4 separate regions of the Homo sapiens genome follow, and regions 1, 2 and 4 are each linked to region 3. Evidence: promoter capture Hi-C in 16 types of primary human blood cells and fetal thymus (Javierre and others, 2016). All regions are on one chromosome and are shown on one strand. Each heading gives the region's core, a stretch centred on a gene start or on the middle of the fragment in contact. The rest is flanking DNA. Distances are from core to core; before and after follow the strand shown. Region 1 has its middle 4.3 kb from the start of LINC01144. Region 2 overlaps ZSWIM5 (zinc finger SWIM-type containing 5). Region 3 holds the start of PLK3 (polo like kinase 3). Region 4 has its middle 28 kb from the start of LINC01144.

What was found. The method cuts DNA at HindIII sites, captures the fragments that hold promoters and counts their contacts. A CHiCAGO score of 5 or more calls a contact.
Region 1: a fragment that was not itself captured here is called in contact with the fragment with the promoter of PLK3 in region 3 in 17 of 17 cell types (naive CD4 T cells, erythroblasts, naive CD8 T cells and 14 more); the score reaches 24.5 in naive CD4 T cells.
Region 2: a contact is called between a fragment that was not itself captured here and the fragment with the promoter of PLK3 in region 3, in 1 of 17 cell types (non-activated CD4 T cells). The highest score is 5.4, in non-activated CD4 T cells.
Region 4: a fragment that was not itself captured here is called in contact with the fragment with the promoter of PLK3 in region 3 in 1 of 17 cell types (M1 macrophages); the score reaches 5.4 in M1 macrophages.

Annotation. Positions count from the first base shown.
Region 1 is chr1:45,306,656-45,309,799 of GRCh38, forward strand. No RefSeq gene overlaps it. Among named protein-coding and RNA genes, the nearest start is that of LINC01144, 4.3 kb to the left of the region's middle. The HindIII fragment of the contact is 1,403 bases long and covers 869-2,271 here.
Region 2 is chr1:45,202,415-45,205,363 of GRCh38, forward strand. All of the region lies in intron 1 of ZSWIM5 (zinc finger SWIM-type containing 5), which reads right to left. Among named protein-coding and RNA genes, the nearest start is that of ZSWIM5, 2.7 kb to the right of the region's middle. RefSeq lists a silencer at 1,469-1,669 and an enhancer at 2,769-2,949. The HindIII fragment of the contact is 2,259 bases long and covers 363-2,621 here.
Region 3 is chr1:44,798,898-44,801,965 of GRCh38, forward strand. It overlaps PLK3 (polo like kinase 3), which reads left to right and starts at 1,480. Exons shown (of 15, transcript NM_004073.4): 1 at 1,480-1,776; 2 at 1,943-2,050; 3 at 2,139-2,255; 4 at 2,725-2,854; 5 at 2,948-3,035. The coding sequence starts at 1,567. RefSeq lists enhancers at 484-1,152, 837-896, 947-1,336, 2,107-2,156 and a silencer at 1,437-1,716. The HindIII fragment of the contact is 10,835 bases long and covers 105-3,068 here.
Region 4 is chr1:45,274,206-45,277,466 of GRCh38, forward strand. No RefSeq gene overlaps it. Among named protein-coding and RNA genes, the nearest start is that of LINC01144, 28 kb to the right of the region's middle. The HindIII fragment of the contact is 1,233 bases long and covers 824-2,056 here.

The DNA.
Region 1 (3,144 bases), core at 320-2,819, 510 kb after region 3:
CACAGCTCAGTTCCTCCTATTAAGAGAGAAAAAAAAATTGGGAAACAATATAAGAATGAGGAGGAAACAAAGAGAATGACCCCCTTTCCAGCACTCCATAGGTTGTATGGCACATCTACTTGCCAAAGTTTATGTAAAATGGAAATAATATGGTCTTTGTGCACATTTACATTAAGGAAAAAGAGCCCTAAGATCGACCTGCAAATTATAGAGTTCCTAAGTGCTCTTTTTCTCGATTTTTTTCTTTTCTGCCTGCTCTAAATCTGCTGTTATTTTTCTATTAAGATAAAAACCACTGCATCCAACAAGTTCTTTTTGCAGGGTGGTGAATTTGTGTTTATCTCATGGCTAAAAGTTCTGAAGTAAAAGCTATAGGATATTTGTTTATGTGTGTGTCTATGTGTGTGTGTATATATATTTAAAAGGCCTTTATAATTTCTACGATTTTATGCTTAATTGGCAATTAAATCTGTTTTAATTTCCCTCTAGCACACCAAACGTTTTCTCTCCGACCTTATAATGTAAATTTTGCTATTTGACTTTCACCTAAGTTGTTTCCTTTAATATGCAAATTTAAGGCTATTTAGCTGAAAACTGCCCAGGGTTATGAAATAGGTCATCAAGAATCTGAAAGTCTAATATAGGGGAAAAAAAGGTTTTCATAAATCTGTAAAATGTAGTTCTAAAGCATGCCTAATATGTCTGTGTATTTATGTGTTGTGTACACAGTGTTTCACTACTAAAAATATATAAAAGAGTGCTAATTAATTGGCTTAAAACAATGAAAAGCGCTTAAATCATATACTACAAAAGACTAGTGAAATGCTCTTTCAAGTTTATGTAACTTAAGTAAAATCTTTAATAAATAAGCTTGCTTTAAAATTAATGGTAAGGTAATATTAGAAACATCTTAAGAATTGCCCGCCTACATTTTTCTTTGCATGTATTAATGAAGCAATTTCATACTCATCCCTGCCAAATATTATAAGGTGTCAAAATTTGGCATAGGGGTAACAAAACTATAAACGCAGCCCAAGACAGAATGATCTTGCTTGTGTAACCTTTAACAAATAAGATGTTGATATTGGTTTAATGAATGTAGTTATATCTTGAATTATTTAGTAAAATTACCATAACCTCTAATTTTGTGGCTTTAGGCAGTCTAATCCACAGATGGTAGGTAGGTTTGTTTTGGGAAAGGACTGTTACCATCTTTGTTTCAAAGCTAAACTATAAACTAAATTTCTCCCAAAGTCCAGGAATGAACAACGACAGCTTGGAGTTTAGAAGCAAGATGGAGTCAGTTAGGTCATATCTTCCTCACTGTCTCAGTTATAATTTTGCAATGGCAGTTTCATAACTTTATTTATTTTTTAATTTTATTTTTGGAGATGGCGTCTCACTCTGTCACCCAGGCTGGAGTGCAGTGGCACAATCTCGGCTCACTGCAACCTCTGCCTCCCTGGTTCAAGGGATTCTCTTGCCTCAGCCTCCCTAGTAGCTGGCATTACAGGCATCCGCCACCACACCCAGCTAATTTTTGTATTTTTAGGAGATATGGGGTTTCACCATGTTGGCCAGGCTGGTCTTGAACTCCTTACCTCCGGTGATCTGCCCACTTCGGCCTCCCAAAGTGCTGGATTACAGGCATGAGCCACCACGCCCAGCGGTTTCATAACTTTAAATCATGACTTTTGGGCCTGGGTGCAGTAGCTCACGCCTATAATCCCAGCACTTTGGGAGAATGAGGCAGGCAAATCACCTGAGGTCAAGAGTTCAAGACCAGCCTGACCACCATAGAGAAACCCCGTCTCTACCAAAAATACAAAATTAGCCAGCTGTGGTGGCATGTGCCTGTAATCCCAGCTACTGGAGATTACAGTAGATTACAGGTGCCTGGGCAACAAGAGCGAAATTACATCTCAAAAAAAAAAAAAAAATCATGACTTGTGGTTTTCATAATCTAGGTAAACCATTAAAATAAAAAAATTAGGTAAATGTAATGGGATAAATACTGGCAGACAAATTTGTCTTAATTTATAATATAAAGTTAAATTAATAGATATTTCATTATTTGGGTATTTTCCAATAAAATATATAATATAGGAAAACATTCTTGATTTTAAAAAGTGTGAACTTTCTTAAAAAAGGTGAAAAAGTTTTGTCTAATTCAAAGATTATTTTAAGGTTGTGAATAAAACAAGGTAAAAGAAACCAGGAAATAAAAAGAGATGTAAAGACAGAAAAAAAAAAGGTTTTTTATGGTAAGAAAGCTTAAAGAGAAATAATGTTATACGAGAAAGAATCTTGTATGGTGGCTGCGAGCAGTGGCTTATGCCTGTAATCCCAGCACTTTGGGTGGCCAAGGTGGGTGGATCACCTGAAGTAAAGAGTTCTGGACCAGCCTGACCAACATGGTGAAACCCCATCTCTACTAAAAATACAAAAATTAGCCAGGCATGGCAGCATGCGCTTGTAGTCCCAGCTACTCAGGAGGCTGAGACAGGATAATTGCTTGAATCCATGAGGTGGAGATTGCAGTGAGCCGAGATTTCACCACTGTACTCCAGCCTGGGCAACAGAGCAAGGCTCCATCTCAAAAAAAAAAAAAAAAAGCACTTACTAAAAAAAAAAAATATTGAATGGTAAATTTAGTCCTAAAATAAAATGACTAATTGTTTAAGAAGGAGGGATGTTCAGCTCAAGGCAACCTCTGCCTCCCGGGTTCAAGCGATTCTCCTGCCTCAGCCTCCTGAGTAGCTGGGATTACAGGCGCACGCCACCATACCCAGCTAATCTTTGTATTTTTAGTAGAGACGGGATTTCATGATGTTGGTTAGGCTGGTCTCGAACTCCTGACCTCAAGTGATCCACCTGCCTTGGGCTCCCAAAGTGCTGGGATTATAGGCATGAGCCACCACGACCAGCCCAAAAATTTTTTTAATTGAGGTTACTATATCCATGTGTCTTCTTGTGTGTACTTCTAAAGTCCTTGTGACCTTGAGTTACAGGGCTTTGACTCCTGGGTCAAAAAGGACACCAAGTCCTGCTAAATCTTAAACACTGACAGCAATTAAAGCCTCATCAGGCTCCATAGAAGATGCCGGTCAAAATAAACTGCATTTCTGAGACACAGGGCCAAAA
Region 2 (2,949 bases), core at 242-2,741, 400 kb after region 3:
CCTGAAATGGGCCACTTTTTATATTTCCATTATTGACTTTGTAATTGTACCTCTTCCACATAAGGTAATACTTAGCATTCTGGTTCTAGTCTTGAAGACTTCAAGAACAAATCATGTACTTATTAAAAAATGTGTAGACTAAAACTATGGGGTTTTGTTGAAGTCACCTGTCAAAATCTACTTAAAATTTCTGGATAAATACGTACATAACTAAGATGTACCAGGCGCAGAAGGCCCCTGCATGCCTTTAGCCAATTTTTAAAACTAAATATCCAAGTAAATATAACATTTCTGTGTTTAAGTGAGAAAAACTGTTAATTTTTTTTCCTTCAATCAATTCAGATTTTCCTGAGAAAAAGCAAAGCTTCTTTAAGTTTTACCAAATACAAAGAAATCAATTTAAAATACAGTGGATAGCAAAAGGGTCAAAATGTTAAAACCGTTAGTAAATTATAGGTGTCTTATTCTTATGCCATCTGCAGACTCCTGAATAAGTATTTTCCCAAAGTTTATACTACTACTATATCCATGGGCTTCTGAAACAAGTTAAAAATGCAGATGCTGAAAACATTCATATGTTTTCAATAGAGTTCATACTCTAACCTTTACAATACTGAGATCAGACTGTAAGTCTATTGACATAGCTTTAAACTTACAGACATCCCTGAAGAGACTAATTTGCAATTTTCCCCTTTTAAAAGGAATACTACTTCTGATGCAGTACTTACATAAAAGAAATGTATCCTTTGAGCATAGCTGGAAAAGTTTTAGTTTTGATTTAAAATCTGAAGTATCCAATTTTTAACCAGAATTCATGACTTCCCATTACCAGATTTTGTGTGGAAAGTAATTAGAAATTACAGAATTTAATCTACCTACTCTTTCCACAAGTTTTTGTTTGTTTTTAATTTATTTGCCTTGAAGGCTTTTTTGTTTGTGCTTTCTTTTTTCATTTAAATTCCCTTTTTCATTAAATTCCCTTATGACTCTTTTTCTTAAAAAGATGTTGTCACAGAAATACCCCAACTTTCTGTTCTTCCTAAAGCATCGGCCTTCAGTAACTTCCCAAATCTGAGGTTCTATCGTTTAGAAACAGTAAGGAAATATGTAGAATTCTTAATTAGCATCACTTAGTAATTAATTGAGTTTGAAGTGCAGTTATAAACTGAAAAACACGATTACTATCTTGGTATATACGAATCACTTCCTTACTCATCTCTTGGCAATACTTTTAGAAAGCCTACTCTCTAGATTAAGTCATTTACTTATAACTTTAAGTTTAGGAGATGGGGGATGAGTCTCTATTAAAGGTGGTTCATACCAAAATACAGAACTCAAAAAGATGCAGAACAGGCTATCCTTCTCTCCTATACTTATTAACCTAAATTAAGGTCAGAATAATAAAAATTACACAGCTCGTGGTTCTCAAGTAGCATAAACTTAAAGTGATAAATTTATTCACCGGTCTTCGTCTTTGAAATCCAAAGTCAATCAGAAAACATGTTTGTTTATATGTGTCTTTTCTCAAGTCAATCAGAAAACATGTTTGTTTATATGTGTCTTCTGAAACTACCATAAGAGAGCCTATAACTCCAGAACCACATTAACTTTCATATTATAAAGGGGAAATATCTGATTTAAACATGATCTAGATTACCCAAAATATCCTATTTCATTTGGAAAGTGACACTTTAGTTACTTTAAAAATAGACACCTCTTTAAAACTCTTCCTCTCTTTTATTTGTTCCCTCAAGTTTGAAAATTCTTCCTCATCCATCTCTTACTATAAAATGACCACTTAAATTGATCCTTTTCCATTTAAAATATTTGAAACAAGAATCTTAAAAGTTAAATAAATGATCGAAACTCAGAAAAATTAAAATTTACAGACTAATAGGAAAATGATTGTATTTATTTTCATGTTTTCAGTGTTTCAGTATTAAAGCTGTACACCTTAATTACATATTTATTCAAGTCACTCTTTCAAAAATATACACAAATAAAGGACTAACCTCTTTCAAATAAACAAAACTTGCTCAAGCCACTGTCACTATATTCTGGCACAGGATAAATTTACATTTCACATTTGCAAAACAAGTTGTGGTATGCTGTTGTTTTGGTTAGAAACACAGGAATCAATGATTCTCAATAACCAGAAGCAGATTACTTTATATGAAACAGCACGATTCAAAGAAAAACATTTTTCAAATGTTTTCTCCAGGTTTTACCTGGAGAGCTAGATGTCTGGGGTTTGTGTCTTTCTGTGCTTGTTTAATTCTAAAAACAACCTCCCTTCAACTCCTTTCAAAAATCAGTATTTTCTTCAATTAATACGAGCATATAGTGTACAATAAAACGCATAAAGATATGTACTTCCAGAATGCCATAATAATCCAAATAGAAAAAAATTCGTGTTTTAATTTTCCACATAGCAAAGTCAATGTTAATCATTTTTTTATCCTTCTCCTTAACCATTCCACAAATCAGAAGCACTGTATTTATATATTTAATAAGATTAACAAACTGACTAGAAGCTCCGGAGGAGTAAAGGAAGAAATCATTTGTATAATATATTTTTCCATAACAAAAAGATAAAAGCAAATAGGACTTGTTAAATGAGAAGCTTTTGAAAAACCCAGCGTGACCAGCTTTTGATTTACCCCAGTCTGACAAGGAAGAGAGACCCCACCCCCACTCCAGATTGTATGGCTTTTTTTTTTTTTTTCCTTGGGTGGGGGTGTGGAGGAGAAGCTGTCACATTTCCATCTTCGGTTATTGTTAGTCCGCAGCCTAGATTCCCAAGCATCACCGGTCCAGGGGAAAAATCCTAACGCAGACAATTAAAACTGTCTGAAACATGCAGTATTTTGTTGGGGCTTTTTTCCCAGTGTTAATTTCATCGAGACTCAATCGGCTAGGGCTATAGATTGCCTCTGACAGTCTGTCCCT
Region 3 (3,068 bases), core at 230-2,729:
TATTCTTCCTTCATAGCACTTTTCACAGCCTGCAATTACCTTGTTTATCTGCTTGCCTATTGTCTGTTTCCATCAAGCAGAATGTAAACTAAATGAGGGCTGCAAGCTTGATTAGTTTTATTCGAGATAGTGTCCAGCACTTAGCAGATGCTCTCAATAAATCTTTGAGGAATGGCATGGTAATTGATTGGCTGGCACAGAGGGAGGGCAGAGAGGTGAGAGACAAGGCCAGGAGGCCTGTGGTCCTGGGCCTCTGTCTCTGGCCCTGGGAAGGGTGGGCATTGCGCAGGGGTCTAGGGGTCCACGTGGTCCAGAGACTAGCTGCCCAAGTGCCCGTGTCTAGCATTTGAGAAAATGCAATTCCCAGCCAGGCAAGGTGGCTCACGCCTGTAATCCCAGCACTTTGGGACGCCGAAGCGGGTAGATCACCTGAGGTTGGGAGTTCCAGACCAGTCTGACCAACATGGAGAAACCCCGTCTCTACTTAAAAAAAAAAAAATACAAAATTAGCCGGGTGTGATGGCGCATGCCTGTAATCCCAGCTGCTCGGGAGGCTGAGGCAGGAGAATCGCTTGAACCTGGGAGGCAGAGTTTGCGATGAGCCAAGATCGCGCCATTGCACTCCAGCCTAGGCAACAAGAGCGAAACTCTGTCTCAAAAAAAAAAAAAAGAAAGAAAGAAAGAAAAAAGAAAATCCAATTCCCATTCACTTTCTGGCCTCTGGCTGCTGACCCAGGCCCGGGGGTATTTTCAGAGGAAGGGAATTGCGGACCCCGGAGGAACCCGAAATTTGCCCCTCAAGAGTGTAGAAGTGGGTAGCGGAAGATGTGGCCTGGAGCATGGTAAAAGCCTTGAAATTCCAGACTCTGCTTGACTCCTAAACCTGGCAAGGCAGCCCTCGGGCCAGGCAAGCCAGGCGCGAGACTGTGCCTTCCTTCCAGGCCCTAAAGAGGGCAGCACTGGGCCGGGCCCCGGGCGAGGGCGAGGGACACACGCGGTCCGGCACACTGAAAGGGGAGTGTCGGGTAACATGCCCGGGCAAAAGCGAGCGCCGCCCCTGCCTCTCCGCTGCTGGCTGGAACGCTGATCTATCTAGTTGCTGGGGAGACGCCCCCAGATGCCCGGGCCCCACTCGGACTTCAGCACACATCCCGAAGGATGGGGAAAGAAAGAGGCCCCCACGAGCGGGACTCGCAGTGGCCAAGGAGGGGTGAGAGGCGGACAGGGATCAGCTGGCCCCTGCGGCCTGGTTGCACCTGCATGGTGACTAGCTGCCGGGCTGCGCCCCGGGGCGCGGCGAGGAGGCGGGGTCTGGCAGTGCGTTGGGTGGGGGAGGAGCTTCTGGGTGATGTAAGGCCGGGAATGGGAGTGGCCTCTCCTCGACTCGCTGCTAGGAAGGGGGCGGGACTCTCGGTGACCAGACGCCGGGGAGGGGGCAGGCGTTCATTGATAAAACGCTGGGCTCCCCTGGGCGCCAGCGCAGCGTAGCAAATCCAGGCAGCGCCACGCGCGGCCGGGGCCGGGCGGAACCGAGAAGCCGGGACCGCGCTGCGACGCGCCGGCCGCATGGAGCCTGCCGCCGGTTTCCTGTCTCCGCGCCCCTTCCAGCGTGCGGCCGCCGCGCCCGCTCCCCCGGCCGGGCCCGGGCCGCCTCCGAGTGCCTTGCGCGGACCTGAGCTGGAGATGCTGGCCGGGCTACCGACGTCAGACCCCGGGCGCCTCATCACGGACCCGCGCAGCGGCCGCACCTACCTCAAAGGCCGCTTGTTGGGCAAGGTGGGCCGAGGGACGTCCGCGGGGTGGTGATGGTGGAGGTGGGGGTCCCGGCCGGCCTCTTTTCTGGCGCCGAGCAGGGCGTGGGCACTTGACCCCCAACGCGGGGACGCCCGCGGGCCAGACTCGGCCCCCCTGGAACAACCAGCCTGATGCCCCCTCTTCACAGGGGGGCTTCGCCCGCTGCTACGAGGCCACTGACACAGAGACTGGCAGCGCCTACGCTGTCAAAGTCATCCCGCAGAGCCGCGTCGCCAAGCCGCATCAGCGCGAGAAGGTGGGTCCAGGCTCAGCGGGCGAGGGGTGGGGTGGGGACGGTGGCATGGGAACCATGGAAGGATGACGACTCCGCGCCCTCATCGCAGATCCTAAATGAGATTGAGCTGCACCGAGACCTGCAGCACCGCCACATCGTGCGTTTTTCGCACCACTTTGAGGACGCTGACAACATCTACATTTTCTTGGAGCTCTGCAGCCGAAAGGTGAAAGATGGTGATTCCCGCAGGGATGAGAGTGAGGGAGAGAAGACAGTCTTTTTTTTTTTTTTTTTTTTTTTTGAGATGGAGTCTTGCTCTGTTGCCCAGGCTGGAGTGCAGTGGCGCGATCTCGGCTCACTGCAATCTCTGCCTCCCGGGTTCAAGCAATTCTCCTGCCTCAGCCTCCTGAGTAGCTGGGATTACAGGCATGCACCACCACGCCCGGCTAATTTTTGTATTTTTAGTAGAGACAGGGTTTCACCCTGTTGGTCAGGCTGGTCTCAAACTCCTGACCTTGTGATACACCTGCCTTGGCCTCCCAAAGTGCTGGGATTACAGGCGTGAGCCACTACACCCAGCCGAGAAGACAGTCTTAAGACCCAAAGCTGGGGCCCTGTTTCTTCCTCAGGGAGCACAGATGGAGGGGGAGGGGGAGGGAGGGCTCACCAGGGGCTGAGGCAGTGGCTCTCTGCAGTCCCTGGCCCACATCTGGAAGGCCCGGCACACCCTGTTGGAGCCAGAAGTGCGCTACTACCTGCGGCAGATCCTTTCTGGCCTCAAGTACTTGCACCAGCGCGGCATCTTGCACCGGGACCTCAAGTTGGGTGAGACTCCTGAGCCTGGAGGATGGGAGGTTGGGGAGGGAGGGAGGGAGGGAGGAAGGAAAGAATCTGACACACCTCTCTTGCCCCATCTAGGAAATTTTTTCATCACTGAGAACATGGAACTGAAGGTGGGGGATTTTGGGCTGGCAGCCCGGTTGGAGCCTCCGGAGCAGAGGAAGAAGTGAGTTTTGAGGAAAGGGGCCCTGTGTGTGAT
Region 4 (3,261 bases), core at 190-2,689, 480 kb after region 3:
TTAATCAAATGAACACACAAATAAATGTAAAATTACAACTGTGATAAGTTCTTGAAGGAATGATACACAATGTGATGAGAGAGAATGGTGGGGGATCTAGGGTATATCCAAAGAAGTGATGTTTTAGTCAAGATCCGAAGGAAGACTAAGGGCATCCCAGGCAGAGAGCATGTGCCTCCTATGGTAGGGAAGAACGTGGCATGATGGAGGGTCTAAAAGGAGGCTATTGGGTCTGCAGCAGAGTGCAATGAAGACTGGAGAGGGAGGCAGGGACCCCCCACAAACTGGGCCCTGGGTCTGAGTGACCATGTGACCCTGGGACAGATGCTCTGGGCCACCTAACCCCCTCTTTTTATATTGCACCCACATATGAAGCTGCAGGAGTCCAGTACCCTGTTGTTACCAAATCACTACAGGAAGACTCTCAGCCACACCTGGCCTGTGTGTACCTCTTTCACCAAGGAATGCTTAAGATAAATTCCACCCAAAGGTGTCACCTTACCTTTCTAACTCTCCTTGTAACTCTCTACCTGTTCTATACATCCTCTCAACTGACCCAGCCTCCTTCTTTGTTTTGGTCCCCAATCATTCTTCTGTATCTTCTTGAACTTCCACTCTAAGACCTACAAACTCCCTCAGATACCTACATCCCCAAGGTTTTCTTAGAGTGGAACCTGCACTTCTATCTAAACAAAAATCTGGAGATGATTCTGGGCAGTTGGCAGAGTAGGAAGAACCAAGAATATATCTCCCCACCTAGACAACAATTGCACTGTCAGATTCTGTCTGATGTAACAGTTTTGGAAATCCAGAGTCTATTGAAAGCTTGCAACTTCCAGGGGAAGACTTGGTGATAAATTGTAGTTAATTTCAGTAAATTTCAACTGTTACCACAGGAGCAGCTACCCATCTCCCACCAACAAGGAGAATGATATGATGTGTTCCTGGAGCAACCTGCACATAGCTTGTGGGAGCCAGGATGGCTCTGTTCTCCAAATATCAGGGATCTGTGCTCTGATTGCTGATTACTGCTTCTGGTAACAGAAGTGCAGAGAGTCAAAGGGCCATTGTTGTTGCACCTCCCTCCATTGCCACAAGTCCCTCCTCTATAGTTGAAGTGACTTCCTGGGGATTTAAAGGCCCAGGATCCTTTTCTTCTCTCTTTCATTTTTTCCCCTTTTGGGAGCCAGACACTGAAGACTAGGACATTAAAAAACAATTGCATATAAAGTGGTTTTTGTATGTTAAAATATATAAATTAAAATTTAAAAGTATACATGCCTAGGAAAAGGTGCAGTTTCAGAAAAGACCTGAGAAGACCTTAAGTTTTCATCTCAGGCTGATCTTTGGCACAAACACTGCATATAAAATTTAAAAAATAAATAAATAAACAAAAACAATCACAAATGCCAGCAAACCCTGAGGAGAATCTGATTTCCAGAGTTTCCACATTAGATGCAAATGTCCAGTTTTCAACAATAAAATCACAAAACATTTTTTAAAAGCCAGGAAAATATGGCCCAAAGGAAAAAATAAATCAACAGAAACTGTCCCCGAAAAAGACTTAATGGGTGATGTACTAGAGAAAGACTTTATTTTATTTTATTAGAGATAGGGTCTCATTGTCTGTCACCCAGACCACAGTGCAGTGGCCCTTATTTTTTTATTTTTATTTTTATTGCGGAGACAGAGTGTTGCTATGTTGTCCAGGCTGGTCTCAAACTCCTGGCCTCAAGTGATCCTCCTGCCTCAGCTCCCAAGGTGCTAGGATTATAGGCATGATCCACCGCACCCCACCTGTAGTGGATCTTCACAGGTGTGATCACAGTGCGCTACAGCCTTGAACTCCTGGGCTCAAGTGATTCTCCCTCTTCAGCCTCCTGAGTAGCTCGAATTACAAGTATGAGCCACTGTGCTGGCAAGAAAGACTTTAAAACAACAGTTTTAAATATGTTCAAAGAACTAAAGGAAGATGTGGAGAAAGCCAATAAAACAATGTATGAACAAAATAGTAATATAAATAGATTTTTTTTAATCTACAAAAAGTAAATTATGAAGCTTAAAAGTGCAATAACTGAAATGAAAAATTCATTAGAGGAATTCAAAGGCAGATTTAAGCAGGCAGAAGAGTCAGTGAACTGAAGGTGGGACAATGAAAATTAGTGAGTCTGGAAAACAGAAAAAAAAAGAAAAGTTGAAGGAAAGTGAACAAAGCCTAAGGGAACTCTGGGACACCATGAAGCTGACCAGCATACATATTGTGGGATTCTCAGAAGAAGAAGAGAGAGAAAGGGAGAAGGAGAGAATATTTGAATAAACAATGACAAAAAACATCCCAAATTTGATTAAAGACATGAATGTAAACATCCAAGAAGCTCAATGATATCCTAGTAAGATGCATTCAAGGAGACCCACACTGAGACATTATAATCAAAATTTCAACAGCCAAATACAAAATGAGAATCCTGAAACAGCAAGAAACAGCTCATCACAGGGGATCCTCAATAAGGTTATCAGCACATATTTCATTAGAAACTTCAGAGGCCAGAAGGCAGTGGACTGATATATTCAAGGTGCTAAAAGAAAAGAACTGTACACCAATAATTCTATATCTGTCAAAACTGTCCTTCAGCCAAGCATGGTGGCTCATGCCTGTAATCTTAACACTTTGGGAGGCTGAGGTGGGCAGATCACCTGAGGTCAGGAGTTCGAGACCAGCCTAGCCAATACGGTGAAACCCCATCTCTACTAAAAATACAAAAATTAGCTGGCTGTAGTAGCGGGTGCCTATAATCCCAGCTACTTGGGAGGCTGAGACAGGAGAATTGCTTGAACCTGGGGGGCAGAGGTTACAGCAAGCTGAGATCATGCCCCTTCACTCCAGCCTGGGCAAAAGAGCAAAACTACGTCTCAAAACAAACAAACAAACAAACTGTCCTTCAAAAGTGAGGGAGAAATTAAGATATTCCTAGATGAACAAAAGCTGAGGGAGTTAATTACCACTAGACCAGCCTTGCCAGAAATGCTTAAGGGAGTCCTGCAAGGTGAAATGAAGAAACACTAGACAATAACTTGAAGGTATATGAAGAAATAAATACTTCATTAAAAGTAAATATGTAGGCAATTATAACAAGCTAGTATTATTGTAACAATAGTTCATAACTCCACTTTTTGTTTTCTTTATTTTTTAAATTAAAGATGAGGTTTCTCTCTGTTGTCCAGGCTGGAGTACAGTAGTGTGATCACAGCTCACTGCAGTCT